7 separate regions of the Homo sapiens genome follow, and all the other regions are linked to region 1. Evidence: promoter capture Hi-C in 16 types of primary human blood cells and fetal thymus (Javierre and others, 2016). All regions are on one chromosome and are shown on one strand. The core of a region is centred on a gene start or on the middle of the fragment in contact, and the rest is flanking DNA. Distances in the headings are between cores, read along the strand shown. Region 1 holds the start of DDX47 (DEAD-box helicase 47). Region 2 overlaps MANSC1 (MANSC domain containing 1). Region 3 overlaps BORCS5 (BLOC-1 related complex subunit 5). Region 4 overlaps EMP1 (epithelial membrane protein 1). Region 5 overlaps BORCS5 (BLOC-1 related complex subunit 5). Region 6 overlaps DUSP16 (dual specificity phosphatase 16). Region 7 holds the start of GSG1 (germ cell associated 1).

Region 1 (3,570 bases), core at 566-3,065:
ACCCTTTTTGTTGTTGAGACACTGCTGTGATGCCTAAATCAGGGCCCTTTTTTAGTTGTGGTGGTGGGGAGGTCGGCAGGCACATTGAGTTGAGTTCCTCACAATTCTCAGGTCAAGCACACTGGCATCACAAGTCTCCTCTCTTGCTTTGTGTATTTATTATCCTTTTTTTTTTTTTTTTGAGACGGAGTCTTGCGCTGTCACTCAGGCTGGAGTGCAATGGCATGATCTCAGCTCACTGCAACCTCCGCCTCCGGGGTTCAAGCAATTCTCCTGCCCCAGCCCCCCGAGTAGCTGGGATTACAGGCACAGGCCACCATGCCTGGCTAATTTTTGTGTTTTTAGTAGAGACTGGATTTCACTATGTTGACCAGGCTGGTCTCGAACTCTTGACTTCAAGTGATCCATCTGCCTTGGCCTCCCAAAGTGCTAAGATACAGGTGTGAGCCACCGCGGCCGGCCTATTGTCTTATACACTTAATTCTTTTATTCCCAATTCCCAGTTTTATTCTAATTCTTCTCCCTCTGCAGGCAACCATTCTAAAATATTTCAAGTGTATCTTCTGTTGGATGTGTTTTAGCAGAATGTGATATCTGTGGGCCTATATTTTAATATACTTGATATATTTTATGCTTTTCTCACTAAGCACTAGGTTTTTCAGATCTAATCATATTGTTAAGGGCATGTTTGTAGACACCATGTTCACATTTTAACTATGCATTTTCCCAGTGACGGACACCAGATTGCCCCCAACTTCCCATCCTCAGGAATAAAACTGCAACGAGCACCCTGCGCAGTGTGAGACCCAAGTGACAGGCCACAGGAGGGCACTCGCTGGCCATGGGGCATGCAACATACAGCTCTGAATTTGCTGCTTTCCAGAATAGCCTTAGTAGCTTCACAGTCTTGGTACTTGGAATTCTCTCACTCTGGAATGATTATCTCCTGGGATCTTAAAGCGTTTTCTCCTGCTCAACAGTGAGGTCTTAACTCAAATATCACTGTCTCAGAGAGGCCTTCCCAATCTCACAGTTATCCCCACAACCCACCCTCCCCAGGTTACTCTGTAATTTTTATGTGAACAGGGTTTCACTCTGTTGCCCAGGCTGGAGTACAGTAGCACCATCTCCACTCACTGCAGCCTCAACTTCCGGGGTCAACTGATCCCTCAACCTCAGCCCCCTGAATAGCTGGGATTACAGGCGCATGCCACCATGCATGCCTGACTGATTTTTGCATTTTGCAGACACAGGGTTTCGCCACGTTGCCCAGGCTGGTCTCGAACTCCTGGGCTCAAGTGATCCGCCCGCCTCGTCCTCCCACAGTGCTGGGGTTACAGGCGTGAGCACACCCAGCTACTTTTCACAATTTGAAATGCTCTGTGATAGCTTATTTATGATCTGTCTTCTTTTTCTTCACGAGGGCAGGGGTCGCTGTCCTATTCACCAGCCATCTAGCATAGCCTTAGCAAATGGTAGGTTCTCAACATTATTGAATAAAGTAATGACATAATAAAAAAATAGTATTGTAATATCAATCCGTTCCAAACTCTATGGTTAGAAAAGCGGGGAACATAACTGGCGACACACGTAGGGAAGGCTCTTTAAAAGGGACCTAAAGGTCAACTGGAGTCCCTGGTGATCAGCCCCTTCTGCACTCGGATCTATTCCGCAAGCCTACGCGCCCATATTCACTGGGCCCCACCTGCCTAGCGGACGGGTGCAATCCCCGGCAAGCCCGCAGGGGGCGCGCAGAGCACGTCGTCCGGGGAGAACTAAAACTACATTTCCCAGCATCCCGCGCGCCGCAGACCCACTTCCGGAGACCTCACACAAGATGGCGGCACCCGAGGAACACGATTCTCCGACCGAAGCGTCCCAGCCGATTGTGGAAGAGGAGGAAACTAAAACATTTAAAGACCTGGTGAGAATGGATGACGCTGGCTTCTTTTATGTACTCTGGTGCTAGGCTCAGGGAGACCCCAGGTACCTTAGATCCCGCTCTGATAGTGTACAAAAGCATCTTGGGGCCTAGCTTGGGTTTTCCCCAGAATTTCAGAGGGCTGGGTTTCGGACGTGCTCTGAGTTTGGGTGGTGGGAGGGCTGCTGGGCCCTGAGACCCCCTATTTGCCCTATTCGCCACTTTAGTGTGGCAACGTTTGTATGTGCATCCAGGAGGTTGTACATATGGGGAATGGAATTGGTCTCTTTATAACTGGAGCTTTGGAGTCAGATGAACCAACCAGATTTGAATTTTGACACAGTCTCTTACTGAGGACAAGTTGTTACCTCTCTGTGTTTCTCTTTCCACATCTGTAAATTGGGGATAGTAATAAGTACTTACCTCGCAGAATTGTTGTGACGATTAAATGAGATGATACATGTAAAGCACCTGGCCTTGGCCTTGGTGAGCAGAAAGTGTTCGTTAAGTCTTGAGCTACTGTCTCATGGTATAGTTAAAGAGTAGGCTCTGAGATGCACAGTAAATACCTTTTAAATCAAATACAATGGTTGTACATGATGGGTCTGACAGTCAGTTAAGTAGGAGGGAGGTAGGGGTGTGCTGTTCTTGGCTAAGGTATATTTTTCTGAATTCCAAGGGTGTGACAGATGTGTTGTGTGAAGCTTGTGACCAGTTGGGATGGACAAAACCCACCAAGATCCAGATTGAAGCTATTCCTTTGGCCTTACAAGGTAGGTTGTATGACTTCGTACAGATTTAATATAAAGTTATCTCAATTAGATACCCCTTTTGAAAGCTGTTGCTTGCATACTTCAAGTGAAATAAGGATATGGTCACTAAAGGTACAAAGTTTGGGTAATGGTATTTGAAAATGTCATTCTCCAATTTTACTGAGCTTACTTTCTGTCTTAATAGCTGAAAGGGTTTGTTCTCTGCCACAGATGCTGACTTTAAGGAAGCCCTAGGTTAAAGTTAAAGTATATTAACGACAATCTTGGTAGACTTTATGCATCAGTGGGCGCACACTTAGGGAAGGATGCCTGGAACACATATGTGTGTCTTGAGGAGTTGAGAATTCTTGCTGTGAGCCATGTTTATCAGATTTGTAAAACAGTGGTTAAAGCAGATTGATGGCTACTGGAACTGAAACTAATGGGATGAACTTTTTTCTTTTTGAGATCTTTTTTTTAAGATGGAGTTTTTTTTGAGATAGAGTTTCGCTCTGTCGCCCAGGCTGGAGTGCAGTGGTGCGGTCTTGGCTCACTGCAACCTCTGCCTTCCAGGTTCAAGCAACTCTCCCGCCTCAGCCTCCCAAGTAATGGATTACAGGCGCATCACCATGTCCGGCTAATTTTGTATTTTTAGTAGAGATGGGGTTTCAGCATGTTGGCCAGGCTGGTCTCGAACTCCTGACCTCAAGTGATCTACCTGCCTTGGCCTCCCAAAGTGCTGGGATTACAGGTGTGAGCCACCACATCTGGCTGTAACAGGATGAACTTTAATAGGAGTAGAAGTAAAGTCCTGCTCTTAGATTCCTAAAGTACCAACTTTACAGGATTAGGGTGGGTGATAAAAGAGGCCCAGAGGTCTTAGTTAACTGAAATCTA
Region 2 (3,570 bases), core at 673-3,172, 490 kb before region 1:
TCTCTACAAAAAAATTAAAAAATTAGCTGGGTGTGGTGGTGGGTGCCTGTAATCCCAGCTACTTGGGAGTCTGAGGCAGGAGAATTGCTTGAACCCGGGAGGCAGAGGTTGCAGTGAGCTGAGATCGTGCCACTGCACTCCAGCCTGGGTGACAGAGCAAGATGCCGTCTAAAAACCAAAATAAAAAGCTATCTAGGGGCAGGCTTATGCCTGTAATCTCGACACTTTGGGAGGCTGAGGCGGGCAGATCACCTGAGGTCTGGAGTTCAAGACCAGCCTGGCCAACATGGTGAAACCCCATCTCCTTTACTAAAAATACAAAATTAGCTGGCCATGGTAGTGCACACCCATAATCCCAGCTACTCAGGAGGCTGAGGCAGGAGAATCGCTTGAACCCAGGAGCAGAGGTTGCAATGAGCCAAGATCATGCCATTGCACTCCAGCCTGGGCGACAAGAGAAAACTCTGTCTCTAAATAAATAAATAAAAATAAAAGCTATTTAGGGCCAGGCATGGTGGCTCATGCCTGTAATCCCAGCACTTCAGAAGGCTGAAATGGGCAGATTGCTTGAGTCCAGGGGTTTGAGACCAGCCTGGCCAACATGGCAAAACCCTGTATCTACAAAAATACAAAAATTAGCTGGGCGTGGTGGCACATGCCTGTAGTCCCAGCTACTTGGGGGGCTGAGGCAGGAGGATTACTTGAGCCCGAGAGTTGGAGGCTGCAGTAAGCTGTGTTTGCGCCACTACACTCCAGCCTGGGTGACAAAGCAAAATTGTCTCAAACAACAACAACAAAAACAACAACAAAAAGCTTTCTAGAACATTTCCAATCTAGTGCAAACCTCTTTTTGGTTACACCGTGTATCATTCCAGTTATAAGAATGTAAAAAGTGGCAACTCCGGAGCCAGGCTATCTGGGCAAGTGACCTCTGGAAAGGCCCTTAAACTTCGCTGTGTCTCAGTTTCCTTATCTACAGAATAAGGATTAAAATTATTCAAAAGGTTGTTGTGGAATTGAAATGAGTTAGTATATGTAAAAGTGAATCTGGCGCATAGTGTAAGTACTTTCTTTTGTGGAGTCTTGCTCTGTCGCTCAGGCTGGAGTGCAGGGGTGCAATCTTGGCTCACTACAAACTCTGCCCCCGCCACGCCCAGCTAATTTTTGTATTTTTAGTAGAGATGGGGTTTCGTCATGTTGGCCAGGCTGGTTTCGAACTCCTGACCTCAGGTGATCCACCCGCCTCGGCCTCCCAAAGTGCTGGGATTACAGGCGTGAGCCACTGTGCCCGGCCCATAGTGTAAGTACTTTCTAAGTGTTTGCTATCAATAAGTAATAAATCATAGAATACTCGACTGAAAGTGGTACAAATATTAGAGATTTATTATTACAGAACAAGATGGAAGTTGGCAGTTCCAGGGTTTGTCCTGTCAATTAACCAAGGCATCCCGGAGACTGGACTCTTCCTGTACCCACTGCCACGCTCAGTGTGGCAGTGCCTTCTCCCCTCATCATGGCAGGGAGGCCACCACAGCTCCAACAACCAAGTCTTCACATGGTCAGCATCCCAAGCATGAAATAAGGGGATGTGGTTAGAAAGGGCTTTTCTCCTTGTGCAGCCTTCCCTTTACAAGCAAGAAAATCTCTCCTAGAAGTCCCTAGTAGGTTTCCTTTCAGCTAAAACTTGGGTCACAGGCCCATCCCTGAACCTGGCACTTCCAACCTGTAACAAATGAGGCAGAAGTGGGACTAGGGCTGGCTGCTGGGCAGCTGACCGGTAGTGCCCACCACAGTCTGGGAGCCAAAGAGTTCCAAAAGTTCCTCACTCAGGCCAGGGGTAATTGAGAAACAGGCACATAACAGTATTCATCCAGGAGTCCTCAGGTTTTTTAAGAGTTTTTTAGTTTTTTTTTTGTTGTTGTTGTTTTGTTTTTTTTTTTGAGATGGGCTCTCGTTCTGTCGCCCAGGCTGGAGTGCAGTGGCGTGATCATGGCTCACTGCAGCCTCGACCTCCTGGGCTCAAGTGATCCTCCCACCTCAGTCTCCCAAAGGGCTGAGATTACAGATGTGAGCCACTATGTGCCTGGCTAAGAGTAGCTTATTTTTATTTTATTTTATTTTATTTTTTTGAGATAGAGTCTTGCTCTGTCGCCTAGGCTGGAGTGCAATGGAGCGATCTTGGCTCACTGCAACCGCCCCCTCCCGGCCTCAAGCAATTATCCTACCTCAGCCTCCCAAGTAGCTGGGATTACAGGTGTCTGCCACCATGCCTGGCTAATTTTTGTATTTCTGTAGAGATGGGGTTTCACCATGTTGGCCAGGCTGGTCTAGAACTCCTGACCTCAGGTGATCCACCCACCTTGGACTCCCAAAGTGCTGGGATTACAGGCGTGAGCCACCACGCCTGGCCAAGAGTAGCTTTTTAACCTAGGTCAGTATCGTGTTGGTAAAATACGGAGAGAGGATGTTTGAGCAGAAGGACCTACCTCATCTTCTCACCTGTTCTAGGCTGCTACCTTCTCTTTCTACAAACCAAAGGAGGGGGCTCATAACTCAATGGGCCTTGTGGGAAAGGCTAACCAGACTAGTCACTGCTGAATTCCTCTAAGGGATTCCCCTACCCTGACTGCCCTTGCCACAGTTGCACCCACCATCCTAGGGGCAGTAAGTAGAGAGAGCTGTGTGAGAAGAGCACTCTTTCCACTCCAGATGTCCCCTACAACCTATATCCTCACGGCCACTAACAGTTTGGGCCCGTAGCATCACTCATCTGGACCGCTCCCATGTGGTCTCCCCATCACAACAAAGACTGCAGCAAGGTGGACAGAGAACTCCAAGAGAGCCAGGAAAATACCTTTATAAACCATCACAGAAAGCCTGATTTCCACTCGCTAAATCCATTAATAAAGAGAGGAGAAATTTTAAAATTCCAAGGCACCTGGTTACTAATCTGATTCTGGCCTACATGTGGATATTCAATAAATACTTGTTAAGTTAAATTGACTCAAGGTTTTATTTATTCAGCCTACTTAAAGCTTATGTAAACCCCTTGGAGATTTGTGTCAAGCTGTTAAGTTGGAAAATATAAGAAAAGTAGTATTTTCAATAGACCAGCTTTCCTCTTAATGTACTTTATGAACTTAGTGTAAACCAGGGAAATGGGGGAGGGGTACCAGAAGAGCAGAGGGGAAGGAGGTGAGGAGGAAGGAAGAGGTGAGGAGGAAGGAGAAGAAAAGCCTTTTCTGTCATTTCCTGCATTTGTCTTAATTGCTGTACTTATTAACCAGCTACTGCCCTCTAGTGCTCACTGTATTAAGTTCGCATCTGAATTCCATTTTTATCTTTAAAAACTCTGGTGACACTTGGAAGGGATCAAATTTCCTGTTTTGCAGATAAGCAAATTGAAGTCCAGAGGAAAGAGGTATCAAACTGACCCAGGGGACTTCTGGACTCTTTGTTACCTCACCTATAACTTGTCTGGAAAACTTTATTAAAAGCCTTTCTCAGAAATTTTAATTGGTAACCAGTAAAAATTGTAGCATCATGTTAGTGCTAGTTATTATTATTATT
Region 3 (3,570 bases), core at 356-2,855, 440 kb before region 1:
GAAGGAATAGGTTTCTCATCTCCCCATTTATTTATTCAAATCAGTGCGGGAACAGTCAGCTCCTATTTTATCCAATGAGTTGTATGTAATCTGTTATTATCATTATTTCTTTTTCAATCTCAAAATGTTCCAAAATTGGCCAGTGACAGCATCTTCAATCTAACTTCCTGTGTCCTTTTTTTTTTGGAGATGGAGTCTCGCTCTGTGGCCCAGGCTGGAGTGCAGTGGTGCGATCTTGGCTCACTGCAAGCTCTGCCTCCTGGGTTCACGCCATTCTCCTGCCTCAGCCTGCCGAGTAGCTGGGACTACAGGCGCCCACCATCATGCCCAGCTAATTTTTCTGTATTTTTAGCAGAGACGGGATTTCACTGTGTTAGCCAGGGTGGTCTCGATCTCCTGACCTTGTGATCCGCCCACCTCGGCCTCCCAAAGTGCTGGGATTACAGGCGTGAGCCACTGCGCCTGGCCTACTGTGTCCTTTTAACATATTCCCCTTATACTTTGAAAATGTCTTTATTTTCTGGCACAATATAATGTTCCAGACTTATTTTGTTCTTCCATGTCTCCAGCTCTAGAATCGGGTATTTCTTAAAGGAACCCTGGTTCTTTTAGTGAAGGGTCTTATTTAGAATCCATTTCTGGACCTTCTCAGAAGATTTAGCTAGGGAATCCATAGATACACACCCACACATTTACACCTATGTTTATTTTTTATATGTTCGTGTATTTGGCAACACGATCTTGCCCTTTCACCCTGGCTGGAGTGCAGTGGCACAATCACGGCTCACTGCAGCTTTGACCTCCTGGGCTCAAGGAATCCTCCTACCTCAGCCTCCTGAGCAGCTGGGACTACTCTGCGTGCCACCACGCCCAACTAATCTTTTTGTATTTTTTGTAGAGATGGGGTTTCCCAATGTTGCCTAGGCTAGTCTCAAACTCCTGGGCACAAGCGATCCACCTGCCTCAGCCTCCCAAAGTGCTGGGATTGCAGGCATGAGCCACCATGCCTGGCCTATATTTTCTATATATTGAAAATGACAAGTTCACACTAATATGTTCTCTATGTTCTTTGATCTGCAGGTTTGTACTTTTAATCGAAAACTTTGGTCATTATGTCTTCCAATATTTTTCTGCTCCCCCCACCTGCTTTTTGTGGGACGCCAATTCGATGTTAGACCGCTTGATATTTTCTTACACATCACTGACACACCTTTCAATTTTTATTTTTAGTCTTTTCCTTTCTGTCCTTACTTTGGATAATTTTTACTGCTGTGTTTCCATGTTCAGTGGTCTTTTTTTCTGTCATGTCTGTACTGCTTTTAATCTCATCCAAGGTGTTCTTAATTTCAGATGCTGGTATTTTTCAGCTTTAGATTCTCCCCCTTAAATGTCTTTGATCTCTCTGCTTATCATGCTTATGTTTTCCTCTACTTTTTGAACGTATGAGTACTTCAATTTTATTTTAATTTTATTTTTAAGAGGGAGTTTCGCCCTTGTCGCCCAGGCTGGAGTGCAATGGCACGATGTCAGCTCACTGCAACCTCTGCCTCTAGGGTTCAAGCAATTCTCATGCCTTAGTCTCCTGAGTAGCTGGGATTTCAGCCACCCGCCACCATGCCCAGCTAATTTCTGTACTTTTAGTAGAGACGGGGTTTCGCCATGTTGGCCAGGCTGGTCTTGAACTCCTGACCTCAGGTGATCCACCTGCCTCGGCTTCCTAAAGTGCTGGGAGTAGAGTGCATTTCTTTTAAAATTTACTTACTAATTTTTTTTTTCCTTTTAGAGACAGGATCTCGCTCTGTTGCCCAGGCTAGAGTGCAGTGGCACCACCGTGGCTCACTGCAGCCTCAACCCCCCTGGGCTCAAGCAAACCGCCTGCTTCAGTCCACCAAATTGTTGGGATTACAGGCATGCACCACCACACCTGGCCTGGATTTCATTTTATTCCTTTAAGGATACCAGACTTTATTCTGGCATATACATATGGTTAAGTTACTTGTAGTCATTTGGACCCTTCCCATGTTTTCTTTTAAATACCGTTGGGGCTCATCTAGTGCAGTCTTTGCCTAGTTTAATTTCATCTCACTACTAAGGTGAAATCCTTCTGAGTACTCTACCTGTTGCCTTATGTATTATGAAGTCTCTCCACTGTGGCTAATGGGAACATGAGCTCTTCAGAAAATATTTGGCCTACTGCTTCTCTCTAGTTTTCTCCAGTCTCTGGAATTTCACCTTACAAATTTACAGATGATGTTTTCAGAGATTTAAGGGTACCCTGTGCAGATCTCAAGGCTGCCCCCTTCTCTCCCATATTCTGTTGTGTAAATCCTACCCACTTTAGTTTCTGCAAACTTTGCTCTCTCTCTAACTCAGTGAGGCTGCTGGGCTTTTTTTGATGTCCATTCTGCTATGGACTGAATGATTATGTCTCCCCCCAATTCACAGGTTGAAATTGTAATCCCCAATATGCTGTATTAGGAGATGGGGCCTTGGGAAGTGATTTGATCATGAGGGTGGAGCCCTCATGTCATGGGAGTCACGCCCTTACAAGAAGAGAGGGGAGAGAGGTTCCTTCTTCCTTCTGTTCTTAGCCATGTGAGGACACAAGGAGAAGACAGCCATTTGCAAACCAGGAAGAGTGCCCTCACCAAATATCCAATGTGCTAGCACCTAAATCTTGTACTTCCCAGCCTCCAGAACTGTGAGAAATAAATGTATGTTGTTTAAGCCATCCAGTTTATGGTATTCTTGTTGTAGCAGCCTGTACCGACCAAGACACCTCCCTGGTCTGCCTCTTGGAAACTGCCTTTAGGTAATAAGCTGGGAAAATGGTAGGGCTTGTTTTCCTTCTTTCAGGGATCAAAGTCCTGTGCTGCCTGTTATACAGTATCGGAAATGAGTGTTTCATATATTTTTGTCTGGTTTTCTAGTTGTTTATTATTGCATAATAGCAGTTAATCCTTCATGTGCAGAGGCAGAAATCCTTAAAAAAATGCTTTTTAATCCATATTTTTCTGTCCGATACCAGTTTTTCCATTTTACTTATAAGACCCTCCTGCCAACAGCCTTTAATTGGTCATTCATTTCTGCAACATATTGATAAGCACCTGCTAAGTGCCTGATGTGGTCAGACAGTGCAGGTACAAAAAATAGAAGACATAGTTGCTGCCCTTTAGGACCTTATTGTTTTGTGAGCGATTTAGACAGGTAAGTATTCACAATAATATCATATTAGTAACACTGGCCACATGTCCCAAAGAGTAGATAAACATGGAGGAGATAATTATTAATTTGGCCTGGGAATTTGGGGCAGGCTTCCTAGAGGAAGTAGAATTCAGCTGAGCTTTGAGGGATGAATAGCAGGTAGCTACATAGAGAAGGCAGGGTTGCAGAGAGTATTCTTTTTTTTTTTTTTTTTTTTTTTTGAGACGGAGTCTCGCTCTGTCGCCCAGGCTTGAGTGCAGTGGTGCAATCTCGGCTCACTGCAAGCTCTGCCTCCCGGGTTCACGCCATTCTCCTGCCTTAGCCTCCCGAGTAGCTGGGACTACAGGTGCCCGCCACCACGTCTGG
Region 4 (3,570 bases), core at 739-3,238, 390 kb after region 1:
TGTCACAGGCAAGACTCTCCCTTCAGGGACTTAAAATCTTAGGGCTGTCATCAGTGGTTTTAATAAAAAGCTATGTGAGGGCAATAGAAGAAGAGAGAAAAGAAAACTGCTCCTAACCTATGGATCTGGGAAGGCTTTTTAGAAGAGGTAGGATTTTAGCTTGGTTGAAAAGAATTTGATAGACTGTCACTGAAAGAAGAATACAAAAGCAGAGCTTTTATTTTTGGAAATCCAAGTCCTGGGATTGCAAGGGCTGGCTTGAGGTGCGTGGAGCCTCTTTCCTGCTGATTGGTGGTGGTTAGAGGTGGGGGTTTGGAGGTTCTTGAGCAGGGGAGTGCCATGGTCAGATAACCCAGTAGCAGGGTAGAAGATATGTTAGAGGGGAGTTGTTCAGAGACAGGGTCATGGGTGAGGCTGATGCCATGGTCAGGCTAGGACCTGAACTGGACAGTAGCAATGGGAATAGAACATAAGGAAGGATGTGAGATAAGTAATGGAGGTAGAAACTCAGGGTAGGACTGTGATGTTTTGGGCAACAAAAGTGGAATGAGGGGAAGGGAAGATAGGACATTTGGCAGTGGTCATTACTGCTCTTTTCTCCCCAGAAAAATCCTGGCCTTTCTTAAGCTGCCAGGGAAATGCCAGCCAGATCCATACCCTGCTTCTCAGAAAGCTCTCTCGTGCCCTTTTGTAGAGAAGGTCTCCATGATGCCTTTCATTCTGGGAGAATCTCACCCACTCTCAAATGAATCATGGAAATTTGAGCCCTGAGGGCCTCCCCCAGTGTTTGCATCGTCTTCAGCTCCTGATTTCTGAGCATGCTCCCCTCCCACCCCTCAGCTAGGGCTAATTCTTCAGTGACTCAAGCCCCAGGATTTTGACCACTTCCTTCACTGGGGAAGTGGGTTTTTGGTTGCTCTATTCTATTGTGTTGCTCCCAGTTATTGTGTTTTAGGTCACTCTTAAAGAATTGCTGCTGCCGCCAGGCCCCATGGCAGTTCAGTGAACACACAGACTTCTGGACAGGAAGAAGTTATCTGACTCCTAGGTTAGCAATCAGGGAACCAAATTATGCACCTCTAAACTTCCCTTCTGGTCCTTAGAAGTCAATTCTTCTCAAAGTCTCTGCAGATTTAGTTACCCACCAGAAAAGGAAAGGCTCCCATGGGGGCCTGAGTAATTTCTCACTGGTCAGAGAACCCTAAAAGTGTTAGGCTGCCTGAACAAAGGCAACAAGGCAATGCATGGCAGTCTCAGGGCTGTGTTCCTTTGATTCTTTCATTTGTGTGTGTGTGTGTGTGTGTGTGTGTGTGTGTGTGGTGTGTAAGAGGGAGGCAAGAAGCCAATAAAGATTTAAATGGATGGAGATAACTTGAGAGGTTTGGTTATCCCTCTTTCCCTTCCCTCATGTCTCATATTAGTTAGTCCTTTAGAGCTATAGTCACGAGCAATTTTAATCCTCAGGGTTCTATTTTATTTTATTTTGAGACGGAGTCTTGCTCTGTTGCCCAGGCTGGAGTGCAATGGAGCGATCTTGGCTTTTTGCAACCTCCGCCTCCCTGGTTCAAGTGATTCTCCTGCCTCAGCCTCCCCAGTAGCTGGGACTACAGGTGTGCACCACCACGCCCGGCTAATTTCTTGTATTTTTAATTGATACTAGGTTTCACCACGTTAGCCAGGATGATCTCGAACTCCCTCAGGGTTATTTCTACTGACTATATTAGCTATTCTGTTAGCTAAGAACTTTATCTGAATACTGAATGGTCAGTGTTTGTGAGGTTTGCATTAGAGCTAGGAGCACAAAGACACCTCTGCTCTAGTGTGGTCTGGGCAATGCAGAAAGAAAAGGAGGAACAGTGATCAGAAACAAAAGATGGTGGTCAGAGGTAGGGAACTGCAAGCCTGTCCGTTAGGGCAGAAAGAAGAACAGAAAAGGGATATCAGAGACCTGTGTGTGGCTCCGAGGTGCTGATCTCCATTTCTCTTAATAATACTTCTCTCCAGAGTCAACATACATGGGTCCTATACCTTCCTCAGTTTCCCACCCAGCCCCTAACTGCCCCTGTGCCATGTATGTTAGGTAGATGAGGCTTAAGAAGGAGATCATCCTCCACTCACAGTGGTGGGTACAGAAATGTGTTCCTGGCATCCACATAGAAGTCAGTGGACGGCCTGTTCTTTAAAAATGCAATGAATTGATAAGCTCTGCTGGCCTAGGTCTGGGAGTCTAAGCACCACAAATGAACGCTGTTATGAGCGTTCCCCTACAACTTTGGAACTGCTCAGTGCACCAAATGCTCTGCAAAAAGCGGGTCTTGCTTCAAAGTATTCAGAATTGCAATGCTGTGATTCTCTGCATCTTGGTTTGCGCTGCCTCACTAGGACTAGGGGTATGCTTTCCACTGGAGAGTGCCACCCATATCATTTTAGAGAGGGCTGAGGGAGAAGTCTACTATTGTTTTAGTGAAACACACTGCTAAGAAATAAGTAGTAGCCACCAATACTTCCAATGGTATAAATTCTCATAAATGGTATTTTTTTCAGTGCCTTTGTATGAAGCAAGATTCACAATGGGGCAGAGAATGAATCTCCCCACAAGCTACCTTGCAAGTAATGGGTGGGTGGAAGTTTCAGGAGCAGGGGTTCTTCTGTTTATTATACTCTGCTATTTGATAAATGCCCAGACATTTACCCATTAGTTACCACTAATGGCTTTTTCATAAAGACCTCAGTGATCGCCTCCTCCCAGACTGAGGGTTTCCCTGGGGGCAGGAGGTATCTAGCACAGTGTAAAGACTGGGTAACTAGGGATGATTCAGCCCAGAAACTCAAGAAGATAACTCATTCTGTTTTCACCTGTGTTGGGGGGAAGGCCATTGAAAATAATGGAAGCCCCTCTAAACTGACAGTGAATGATATTAGTAAAACCTGACAAATAATGGGCCAGTGAAAAGATGGAGAAGTTGTAGCTTAAGCTAAACAGCCCCTCCTTCTGGCTGGATACAGCAGCTAAAAACAGAGAGAACTGTGTGTTTTGCACAAGACCGCTTGCTAACTCAAGACATTTTGCTTCTTTCCGTGGTGAAAAGACAGGGAGGGCACCATCACAAAAATCTAAGATGAAAGAGAGTCGCTCTTTTGCTTGATTCTCACATCCATTCTTCCAGCCTGCAATGGGCAGGGCATATGGTCAGGTGGATCCAGGGGCCAGGCACTCGCACACACCACCAGGGCTGTGATGCATGGGCCCAGGTAGAGGTGCCGTGGGAGGGGTCATTGAGACAGAGAGTGTGAGCTGGGCAGAGGAAATCAGACTTGACTTTAGGGGTTACAGAGCAACCCAAGGAGACAAAATGCTGCTGAATTCCCAACAGCCTATCAGGGAGGGAATGTTTTCTGTGACTCATTTAAGTGGCCTCACTTGGTGGATTATATTCTGTCATTGGCCCCTCCAGCCCTTCCCCCTTTTAAGAAGAGGATGTTTGTAAATTAGAAGCAACAGGAACAAGAAAGTCATTTGAAGAGCCCGAGGAGGATTAAACATAAGTATTCGTTATGTAATATTTGTAA
Region 5 (3,570 bases), core at 516-3,015, 370 kb before region 1:
ATGGTTTGAGCTCAGGAGGCAGAGGTTGCGGTGAGCCGAGATCTCCACTCCAGTCTGGGCTACAGAGCAAGACCCTGTCTCAAAAAATAAAATAAACAGTTTAAAATTCTGTTTGAAGAACTTTGGGATTCACTTTGAATAGTCAGTAATTACCCAGGATTATTGCAAAACAGAGACCAGCACTCACAGTACTGAGCAATACCTCAGCAGCGTGCTCGGGCAGAGGAGGTGAGTGCAGTTTTGGGGCTTTCATTGGTGGCGTAATGTGTCCGTCTTATCTCTGTTGGTGAGTGTTAGCAAACTCCTGAATCATATCCGTCCGTCTATGTTCACCTCAGACCTAAGGGTTGAAATTAGTCACTTCCAAATGAGTAAAGCAGAGGATGTCATTTTGATCAAACACCAACTCTCTGATATTATTCCAGATGTTTCCTGGAAATTTGGTTGGAAAGATGAGGAAGTAACATAATGCTATGTGTTGACAAGTGAGGGAACTTAATAACCATGGAGAATATGTGTTAGTGGAAGTATATAACCGGGATCAACTAGAGGTCCCTAAGATTACAGTACCTGTGATCACTTAAGTCTGGATCAAAGGGAAACATGGCTATAACTATTTCTGATTCAGATAAAGGAAAATCAGAGAGTTAGCTCAGCTTTCCTTATGTTAAATTTGGATGATGCTCTTGAATGAAAAGCTTATGTTTATAGATTTGTGTATGTGAGGGAGAAGAACGGAGGTAATTTACTTTGCAATCAGGGAGTCTAGTGACATACCTTAACTACTAGTTTCTTTAATGGCGATAGGCTGACCCCTCAGCCAGCACTGTTGAGCAGCTATTGCAGACCCACCTAGTGGGGAGGTCCTTTGGGGGTTCCAGAGACATGTAACATGGTCCTTGCTCTTTGAGAGTTTAGCCTCGCTGAGGGAATGAAGATATACAGAACAGAAATATGAAAAAGGCACTGTTGAAGGGGAATGCTCATTTGTTATTTATAACTAAAGTTCTGTAAGAGTTAAAGATTGGGATATCCTGGAGCAGACGGGGTTTAAGCTAGGTCTTTGAAAAAAAAAAAAAAACCAGGATTTGGGAAATGAGAGGAAGAGGGGGGCATTGCTGCAGGGGAACAGCTTGACAGTCTTAGAAGAAAATTAACTTTGGGGCTTCAGGGACACTGAAGAAACTGGCCTGAGTTTCAGTGAGCTTGCTCAGAGAAATCTCTGCATTAAGAACCACAGAATGTTGGAATTGGAAGGACCTTAGAGACCCTCTGGTCCAGTGCTCTCATTATTCAGATGCAGAAATTAAAGGCTTTTACAGAAAGTAAGCACTTCGCCCAGGTCACACAGTGAGGTAGTGGCCAAAATTAAGTTAAAAGTGGATGAAGATCAAAGGGGATTTTTTGTTATGCAGGTGGTGCACTTGAACATGTTTACAGGATGAGGGGGAAGAGGCAGATGAGACAAGATCAAAGATGAAGGAGAAAGGGGGATTCTTAGAGCAAGATCCCTGAGGAGGCAAGAGTTGGAGCCTTGTGGGACATCTGTTCTGAGAGAACAGGGAGGACGCAGGCAAGTTTATGACAGGAGGGTCCCTGGCACAGATCGGTCACACCCAGCAGCTTGTATCCTCTGTGGAGAAGAGGGAGGTCATTTGTTGAGTGGTCATGGTGACTGGGTACAGTAATGAGTGCCATTAGGCATTGAGGGCTCAGCTGAGGCAGGGCAACTTGTATTTGCTCTTTGTATTTGCAGACAATTTGGCAGAATGGTTCTGAGCGTAAACTCCAGAGCCACACTGCCAAGGTTCAATCCTGGCTCCATCTCTGACTACCTGTGTGACCTCAGGCAAGTCCCTTAATTCTTCTGAGCCTCAGTTTCCTTTTCTGTTCAGTGAGAACAGAATGACATCCACCTCAGGTTTTCGTGAGGGTTCAATGAGTTATTCTTGGTACAGTTCTAGGGACCACGCCTGCCATGTAGTAGACACTGTAGTGTTAGCTCTTTGTTATTGCTTTAAATATAAATGATGACTAAGGAGAAAGGCCTATCCTAATTGCCATGAATTGGCCCATTTGAAATTACTTGATACCAGCAGCTGTCTAAATATTGCCCCATTTTAAGTTCTGCTCTTAACAACCCAAGTATAAGCACTAAATAGAGGCAAGGCAAAAAAAAAATTTTTTTTTTTTTAAGCCCACTGTGGTTTCCTTCAAACCCTGCAGGATTTCTTTCATGCCATGAATATGTAGTTTTTGGAATTTCTGTAGTGAATTTAACTGTTTATTCTGCTTTGTGGATAGCATACTCGTGCCTGGGGAACATGGGTCTTGAGAAATGTGAAGCTGGATGGTGGCAAACCATTAGTCCTTGGCTTCTAGGCTGTGGATACATGGCTGCCTCTGATTTGGGGGATTTCCTGTATATTGCCTCATTTCTAGTTAAGGATTCAAGTTGACAGACACTTAGTTTTAGGTTACATCTATCATTGAAATGTGGGGTAACTGAAAAGCCAACCAGAAAGGAGTGTGCTTCCTCCCCAGGTGTGGTTTCCCTGGGGGCGAGGGATGAGGCTGGTGGCAAATACGCAGCCCCAGGAAGATGCAGCACAGACTTTTGGAGCTTCTCTTGTCACTTCCCTGGGTCTTACTTCTGCCTCATTCTAGTTGCTGTCAGTGGGTAAATGTGTTCATAGATTAGAACAAGTTGCAGCACAGACTTTTGGAGCTTCTCTTGTCACTGCCCTGGGTCTTATTTCTGCCTCATTCTAGTTGCTGTCAGTGGGTAAATGTGTCATAGATTAGAACGCCTTTGTAACTAAGATAAAGCCACAAGCTTTATTTTGTTACAGTTCCTGTGTGCTTGCTTGAAGGCCTTGAGAGTACATTCATGATATGATTCTAGTAACTCCTGTTTTAATTCTTAGATGTGTTGATAAGCATAGTGTATTGACATAAACCAGTATGAAGCATGGAGGGGGTTCAGATGAACTGGTAAGAAAAACTTGCAATCCTTGGAAAGCCATATGATTACACAGGATTATGAAGAGGCCCTAAGGTTTCTCTAATTTAGCCCTTTCATTGTGCAAATAAAGAAACCAAGGATCTTCGAGTGTATATGGGATTTGCTGGGTATCTTTCCATTAGATAATGACTAAGATGGTATTAGAAGGTGAGTCATCTTTTCCACTGCACCATACTACTTATGTTCTGCCTCTTTGGAGTCCTTCATTTCATTTTTGGTTATTCCTTTTTTTACATGGTAGGTCCTCAACTGGTGTTTGAAGGAATGCACGAGAGTTGCCATTCATGGGCCTGCACACAGGGCTGGGCAGGGATTTCTTTCTGTCATCGGTACCGTAATGTTTAAGACCCAGCTGGAGTCATTTTCCAAGTATTTGACCTGACTTCCTGTACTGTGTGTCCTCCCAGGGAGAGAGACTGATCCAGATTAAATGAGTAGTTCCGAGTGTTGCACAGAGCATCACTGTCTGAACTGGCATTAGCATTCACTTTGAGCTCCTTTGGTTAAAAGCCTGGTTAGCGTGAGCTGTTGGCCAGGTGAAACTG
Region 6 (3,570 bases), core at 737-3,236, 340 kb before region 1:
TTTACCAAGTGTCTTAGGCTTTTTCACTGTAGTGTGCATTTAACGTACACAGTAAAGAATGAAGGCTGGCACTAAACTGTTAGCTAATCATCCGGTGTTCCATGTGAATGACAGAACACGGAATAAACCTGATGACACCACCACTTTATTTTGAGCTAAATCCTCATTTAAGTGAGAACAGGACAGGTTTCACCACTGCCTCCTTTGGCAACTTGAGTGGTGGTGTTCCCACCGAGTTTATGGCTGCAAAGATAGGTCTTTTCTCGTATTTATGTATAAACAGGTACCAGTTTTGATTTTATTTAATCATTTCATACATTAACATACATGACACATCAAAATGAGAAATGCACAGTTTAACCGTTCAACAGCTGGCCTTACTTCAAAAGAACACTATATTCATATTAAACATTTACAGTCTTTCCATCTAACTTTACACATGTCCTAAATCATTTTCCAGCACTTCTCACATAGAAGTCTAGTTTTGCTCTTTAAAATCACCATCTGTATCACCCCTAGTAGACGCGAGGGTTTCCCCAATTACATGCTGAAGAGAGCCAGCCACCACCCCACCTAAAGACATCCAAGCAGCTCCAGAGCCTGCCTCCGAGGCCACCCCTTCGCCACGGCAGTCTCGATTCCAAGAACTGATTATCTGACACTAGTGAACCAGCACTAAAGGCTGTAGGATGTGACTACATCACAGTTCCAGAAGGAAGGGGGACCATGGCCAAGAGAAGCCCTAAATGACAGAAGCTCATTAAAACCAAGTCCCCCAAACCTCCTGAAACATCGTTAGCAAGGAGCTACTGCTTTCCTTTCTTAAACATGTTTTGGGCATGACCACACTCTGGAAGTGGTGAACTGTTACACATTTGGTGTGTGTGTACATAACATCAAAAACTACTGTGTGAAACTTGAGAATGTCTGATTAAAGATTTCAATGTATATCTAAAAACTAACTCAAATCGTTGACCAGCACTTTCCCAGTATCATAACAATGCGGCTGACCCTCTTCTGCCTTCACTTTACACCCCATCATAGCACATTATTTGTGCACAACTAGTGAGGTCTGTGCGGCTCATCATCCCCATAACCAAGTCGGTCTGTGTTGAGTCATATCATTCTGTGCTGGTTTTAGAAGTCACCATAGGAAACATGAAGTCACATCCTGGTCAAAAAACTGTCCATTTCTCAAAAACAGAGAAAAACCTGAGATACGAGGCAGCAACTAGCGACACTTACAGGAAGGGAAAGAACAATGACAACACCCGCCCAGCCCCACCCCCAAAAAGCTGCTGTTGTGAATTAAGGCTTCAAAAGAGGACCCACATTGTAGCTGATAAAACTCAAGCCAGGAGGATGTTTGAAAGCCAATCTGCACTATCACTTGTTCCAGTGACCTCCTATGTTCAGCTGCCAGGACCGATTCCATACAGTGATTGTAGGTTGAGGACTGAGGACGCCCCTTTGCTCTCGCTCCATTTTGATTTGCTTTTTCCACTGAAGACACGCCGGCCAGCGTTTCCAAAAACAGCTTGGCCATGGCTTTGCACTCTATTCACAACTGATCAAAACTCAATGGTCTTCTCAGCTTTCTCAACCGTTTTATTCTGAATATTCCTTCCTCACTAAAGCCTCTCTCAGCCCTACTAGTAAATGTGAAAGTCTGAGGCAATCATAGAAACATCAGCCCCATCGCATGCCGAGGGGATAAAAGCCACTAAGGAAACAGGTTTCCTGCTTCTCCTCAGCAATTTGTACCTTTCTTAATCTTCCCATAATTTACCTCCCTAGGAAGTTTCCTATAAAATTCTGCCATATTATTACATTTTACCAACTGTATCCATGCAGTGAAGCAGAAAGGGCAAAAACATCTGCTTTGGCTGAGAATTTGAAGGTGCTGCTGCTCTGCTACCAACCCAAATAAATTCACATTTGGCTTGAAACCAAGTTCATCTTTATTTAAAGGATTGACAATCCCATTTTAAACAATTCTTTGATTTACAAAGAGGGAGGTAGACTCGTTAGCCTCCCAACCTTAGCTTAAATCGTGATGTTGCCAGGTTCCTGGTGGTTCAGCTGAATCCTAGACAGTTTCCCTTCTCTTCATAAAGCTGAGAAGAAAAAAAAATTATCTCCATCTAGGCCCACGGGAATTTTGTGCATAGACAGTTTGAATTGGTCTGAAAAGTGTGACTAGCTACCTACCTATTCACAATGCCTAGAAAATGGGCTACCAGATATGGTAGTGGTCAAAGCCCCGACTTTCCTGTCTGAGGTACTGGGTTTGCTCTAAGGTAGACCTTGGCAAGGCCCCTAATGGTCCGTCCAGCAGAGTGATGCTCGTGTCCCTCGGCTGTCAGGTGAGCGTGGGTTTGTGAATCAGCTTTGGATAGGATCATTTCTCTTGGATTTACCACTAGGCTCTGTCCCTAACAGGGTCTACCTACCTGACCCCCAAGCTGGCTCAGTCTCAGCGCTAAGGTGTACTATGGAAGGGTCCGGACAAAGACTAATATTTGAGATCTCTTAGTAGCACAACGTGAAAATGGTAGGGGATTTTGTCCTCCAACACCAAAGACACTTGCTTTTTTAAGAACAAGAGGATGTGTAATTCACTGAATAAAATGGTTTTCCTCCGTCTAGGGGGGATTCTAGCATCTGCCCTTCCATTTTTGTTGAGAGAAGTATTAGCTGATCTCTCAAATGCAGATGTTAAGAGAGTAACAACTGGGTTGATCCACCTGTTGCTTTTACACCATAGCTCCATTTTCCAAAAATATATATGTATGTACATATATATATTTCAGATTTACAGGGAATTTTTTTGTGAACAAGAAAAAAAAATTGTCTATAGAAGTCACAAGTGTCTTTCTTCTCAGGAGACCTCAATGATTTCCATGCTGCCCGAAAAGCTAGACTGACTGCCCACTTTCCCCAGCTCTTCCCGTGACCTGTTCTCTGACATGATGCTCTCTCCAAATTCCATTTGGCAGCTTCTGCGTTTAAACTGCTTTTCAAAGGGGCTCTCTTCATGCCAGCTCCGCCGCGAGTCAGCTCTGTCACTTGGCTTCTGCCGCCTGCGCACAGAATAGACTTGGTCTCCGCAAGTGGGCAGCTGGCTGCAGCTGTAGGCAGAGTAACTGGCACTGCCTCCGTAGATGGCTGAGGCAGAGTAGAAGTGTGAGGACTCTGTGGCAAAATACCAGCTGCTGGTCAGGGAAGGGGTAGAGGTCTGGGGGGCCAAGATATCCGAGTGCCAGCCCTTAAGGCCCAGGCCAGCAGACTTCGTGAGGTGCTGCTGGCTGGTGGAAAGGCCGAAAAGGAAGCTGGTGTGGTAATTGTCCTCCACGCTCCCACTTCGATGCAGTGGAGATAAAAGGGACCTCTGGGCGGTGCCACTGCTGCTGGTTCTGACCGAATGCAATCGCTTGCTCTGGCTGTCTGAAGGCCTGGCGGTCTGCAGCTTCTTGGGGATGCTGGCTTCCTCCTTATCAGGACTGGTTTCGGGAGTCTGCTCCGATAGTTCCTGAACAGGGGAGAACTGGCATAGCTTGTTGGTCCCAT
Region 7 (3,570 bases), core at 789-3,288, 290 kb after region 1:
GCGGAGAGACTGGGTAGTCGGAGGGATTCCTTACACCCAGGCCGGTGGGCCAGGGCTCGGGATGTGTCGAGCTGCTGGAGTCCAAAGTCAGGCATTTCCCTGCCTCTGCCCGGTAAAGCTATGGGTCCCAGGCTCCCGTTCTAAGGGAAGGGGATGTCTGCGTCTCATTGGGAAGACCCCAGGGCGGGACTTCACCACCCAGACCCCTCAGCAGATCCGAGTTCTATTTACGACCCAATGCACGACTGCACTGAGGATTTTGGCCAAGTTACTTAACCTCCCAGAGGGTTAAATTTACCCTCAGGGGTAAATGAGGGCAAAGAGTTGTCCTTCTTAGTTCTGTGAAAATCGAAAACAGGTAGAAGAAGAGTGCCTCTAAGCAGAAACGAAGGGGAAGTGCACCTGTGCTACCAGCAGACACCTTGCTAGACCCTTCAGACATCTTCCTTAATCCTCACAACCAGCCTGAAAGGGACGTGGCATCCCCATTCTACAAGTGAGGGTTCCGATTCGGAGGGTTTGACTTGCTCAAGGCCACAAAGCTAGTAAATGGTAAAGTCAACACTGGCAATCTTTGAGGACTGTTCGCCTGACTCATCACCAGGCTGCCACTCAGTAAAAGCCAAGGCACAGTCACCTTTAACAAAATGTACAGATTGCAGGCCAGATTTATGGGACCTCCTGCAGATTGAGGCAATGGATTAAGTGTACTTTATACTTCTCAGGTACATATTAGCAACCAGACGCTCCCATATTCCCTCTGTGTCTCTCCTGGAAAACCACTGATAAAGAACAATAATAAAATTTATTCTAAGCCATGACTGGCTTTTTCTGTCATGTTCACATCCACTTCTTTGTCATCTATTCACTTGGGGCTGCTTCTGAATTAGGGAAGCTGCCTGAACCCACACTCCGATGGCTCTTCAGAACCACCAGCTCAGCTCTGCAGTCCCAGAAGTGCCTCTTAAGTTATCCTGTTCTTTCCTTTGAGATCCTAACTTCCAGCTGGTCAACAACATACCACATTGCTCCCTGTGTTGGAGTGTATGTACGTGTGTGTGTGTTTGTGTATGTGCTAGTTTGCTGGCTAATTGCAAGCTTCATTTTTCTCTCCTGAGAAAGGCAAGATATCTGAGAATGAACACCATTTGTTTTTTTAAGTAATCCTTAGAGCTGAAAGTTGGGAGGCTGGTCGTTTCTGAATGTAGGTCAAATGCTAAACAAGCCGCAACTTCTCTGCAGAGTGTGAGAGTCTTCCTGGTCTGGAAGGATCCCTGAAGATTCTGCTGGATTCTCTGAGACGAGAAAGAGCTTGACTGTGTGTTGTCCTTCCCAGTTCCAGATCAGAGCTGCCTTCCAGCAGGACCTTGGGGATGCCCCACTGTTCTCTGGCATAGAGCTTGATGTCTGCTCTTTCAGCTCACTGGGGTGACACACAGCTCTATTGTTGCCACCGCTACTGGGCCTTTACCAGGCTCCAGATTTTGGCAACGGGAATAATGCAGATGAAAGGAAAAAAGGAGAGGCATAGGGAGCCCTGGGAACAGAAAGGAGAAGGAAGATGATGAGACAAGGGAAGAAGAAATGGAAGTTTTAATGAAGGAAGATGAAAAGGTAATAGGCCAAGGTATGGACATACCAGTTTTATCTATGAAAACTGGGCTGAGTGACACATTTTCATTCCATTTTGTAGAACCCTATAGTGCATTTCCAAGCTCTTTACTGTGACCATGTGAAATACATGAAATTGATGAGTTAGTGTAACCTGTGTTACAAATCCAGCAGTAAAGATATGTGTATGAGATGTTCATGAGATTTCAAAATCACTGTACCTACCTCCTGGGTGAGGCAAACATTTTGAGTCAGTTGAGAGGGATCGCTCATTCACTCTTGCAGCGGGAAGGCAGAGAAGTTTCAGTTTATCTTCTGTTCTGTCTCAATCAGTTGGGTAGAATGAGTGTTTAGCGTGAGGATGAATCAGGTCCCCTCTTGCCAGCAGAGGGGTAAGGTGGTGTGTGGTGGATTGGAGAGGATGTCCTGAGGGCCAGACACCAGCCAGGGCGGGGTTGGGTGACCCGTGGGGTTTATTCTGTGATGTCACAACGGCAGTCAGGGGTCTCCCTGTTGCTCCCTCAGCCTCCTCCCATAAGGATTGGGGGGGGTCATGCTGGGTACCTACCAGTGGCTGGATGTCTTCTGAGGTCGTCCAGATCAGTGCTTATCTTATTGTGCATAAGATTCACCTGGGGAACTTAGTCAAGTGCAGATCCTGACTTAGTCAAGTGCAGAGTCTGGGATGGCTCTCACGTGAGTCCAGCCAGACCACACTGAGTTGTGAGACTCTAGACCAGTGCTGTCAAAGCAAAATGCAATGTGGGCAGCATATGTCATTTAAAATTTTCTGGTAGCCACATTAAAAAAAGTAAATTGGACACACATACTGTGATACAGCAATCATATGTTATACAATACTATGTTTAAAATGTAGCCCTCCCCACACAATAAAGTTGGGTTTAATGAAAAATATTTTATACTACTTTCATTTTAAAATTAAAATTTAGTGAATTCAAATTACATAAAATTAGAAATTCAGTTGCTCAGTTGCACTATCCATATCATAAGGGCTCCACAGCCACACATGGCAAGTAGCTACTGTATTGGATGGCACAACTCAAGGCCATTCCCTGAAAAGGTAACAATGTACAGAAATTACCATTCTAAAGGGCTAGTATCTGGAAACCCAGCAAACATTCACTAACATCATTTTAATGAATACATAATTAGTGTTTGGGGACTGTTAATATGGAGGCATAACTCTCGGAGACTGGAAGAGGGCCTCATCCAGGATTCCAGCTAACAGTCTGGATGGGGCCCTCTGCCCTGTGAAACCTGTCACACTCAGTCCTCCTCTGAGCTTTTGCCAGGGTTCCCCTCACTGGGATCCCTTCCTTCTCCTTGCTGCCCTGCCTAAATCTTACACAACCTCAGGGCACATGATTCCAGTCTCACTACCTTGTGGCTCTAGCCCTCCTTACTCCCCATTTCCTCTTTGCTCATACAGCATGCCTGCTTTGCTTTTGGTGTGTTAGTCTGTTTCTCTCGTGAAATTCTAAGCTGCTTGAGGACAGAATCTGGTTTTTTACTTCTATCGTGCTTAATATAGTGCCAAGGGCATAGTAGCTGCTCAAGAAATATTTATTATTTTATTTAATGACCTAAACTACCTAAGGAAGTATCTAAGAGAGAACATCGGATCTCGAAGTGCCAATAACTTCCCCAATGGAACAACATGCCTTATTTTTGGCACATCTTAAATTGATCAAGATGTCCGTTATAAGTTAATTTATAAATTTAATACAAATAACCATGAGTATTTTAAAAGACCAACACAAGTTGATATTAAAGTTTATATGGGAAAAAAATACACAAGACTAGCTAGGAAAACCCTGAAAAGGAAGAGCTCTGAGGTGGTGCTAGCCCTAATTGATATAAAGCATACTACAAAGCCTCTATGATTAAAACAACATGGCACATGTATACATATGTAACAAACCCGCACGTTGTGCACAT

What was found. The method cuts DNA at HindIII sites, captures the fragments that hold promoters and counts their contacts. A CHiCAGO score of 5 or more calls a contact.
Region 2: a contact is called between a fragment that was not itself captured here and the fragment with the promoter of DDX47 in region 1, in 2 of 17 cell types (non-activated CD4 T cells and total CD8 T cells). The highest score is 6.1, in non-activated CD4 T cells.
Region 3: a fragment that was not itself captured here is called in contact with the fragment with the promoter of DDX47 in region 1 in 10 of 17 cell types (naive CD8 T cells, total CD8 T cells, non-activated CD4 T cells and 7 more); the score reaches 15.2 in naive CD8 T cells.
Region 4: a contact is called between a fragment that was not itself captured here and the fragment with the promoter of DDX47 in region 1, in 2 of 17 cell types (naive B cells and M1 macrophages). The highest score is 5.8, in naive B cells.
Region 5: a fragment that was not itself captured here is called in contact with the fragment with the promoter of DDX47 in region 1 in 2 of 17 cell types (naive CD8 T cells and fetal thymus); the score reaches 6.4 in naive CD8 T cells.
Region 6: a fragment that was not itself captured here is called in contact with the fragment with the promoter of DDX47 in region 1 in 1 of 17 cell types (naive CD8 T cells); the score reaches 5.5 in naive CD8 T cells.
Region 7: the fragment with the promoter of GSG1 here is called in contact with the fragment with the promoter of DDX47 in region 1 in 1 of 17 cell types (naive B cells); the score reaches 5.2 in naive B cells.

Annotation. Positions count from the first base shown.
Region 1 is chr12:12,811,531-12,815,100 of GRCh38, forward strand. DDX47 (DEAD-box helicase 47) reads left to right here and starts at 1,816. Exons shown (of 12, transcript NM_016355.4): 1 at 1,816-1,924; 2 at 2,601-2,694. The coding sequence starts at 1,838. RefSeq lists an enhancer at 1,643-1,952. The HindIII fragment of the contact is 15,992 bases long and covers 1-2,623 here.
Region 2 is chr12:12,324,700-12,328,269 of GRCh38, forward strand. MANSC1 (MANSC domain containing 1) reads right to left here. Exons shown (of 4, transcript NM_018050.4): 4 at 1,357-3,570. Among named protein-coding and RNA genes, the nearest start is that of MANSC1, 24 kb to the right of the region's middle. RefSeq lists an enhancer at 608-1,108. The HindIII fragment of the contact is 2,222 bases long and covers 812-3,033 here.
Region 3 is chr12:12,370,581-12,374,150 of GRCh38, forward strand. The region is part of intron 2 of BORCS5 (BLOC-1 related complex subunit 5); the gene reads left to right. Among named protein-coding and RNA genes, the nearest start is that of BORCS5, 15 kb to the left of the region's middle. The HindIII fragment of the contact is 9,315 bases long and covers 1-3,570 here.
Region 4 is chr12:13,205,645-13,209,214 of GRCh38, forward strand. All of the region lies in intron 1 of EMP1 (epithelial membrane protein 1), which reads left to right. Among named protein-coding and RNA genes, the nearest start is that of EMP1, 11 kb to the left of the region's middle. The HindIII fragment of the contact is 5,765 bases long and covers 1-3,570 here.
Region 5 is chr12:12,439,540-12,443,109 of GRCh38, forward strand. The region is part of intron 3 of BORCS5 (BLOC-1 related complex subunit 5); the gene reads left to right. Among named protein-coding and RNA genes, the nearest start is that of BORCS5, 84 kb to the left of the region's middle. RefSeq lists enhancers at 1-836, 116-410. The HindIII fragment of the contact is 2,138 bases long and covers 697-2,834 here.
Region 6 is chr12:12,473,952-12,477,521 of GRCh38, forward strand. It overlaps DUSP16 (dual specificity phosphatase 16), which reads right to left. Exons shown (of 7, transcript NM_030640.3): 7 at 1-3,570. The coding sequence ends at 2,882. Among named protein-coding and RNA genes, the nearest start is that of DUSP16, 87 kb to the right of the region's middle. The HindIII fragment of the contact is 4,519 bases long and covers 1-3,570 here.
Region 7 is chr12:13,101,629-13,105,198 of GRCh38, forward strand. GSG1 (germ cell associated 1) reads right to left here and starts at 2,039. Exons shown (of 7, transcript NM_001080555.4): 1 at 1,837-2,039. The coding sequence starts at 1,884. It overlaps LOC105369666 (a long non-coding RNA gene), which reads left to right. Exons shown (of 2, transcript XR_931369.3): 1 at 1-112; 2 at 359-818. The HindIII fragment of the contact is 5,406 bases long and covers 1,097-3,570 here.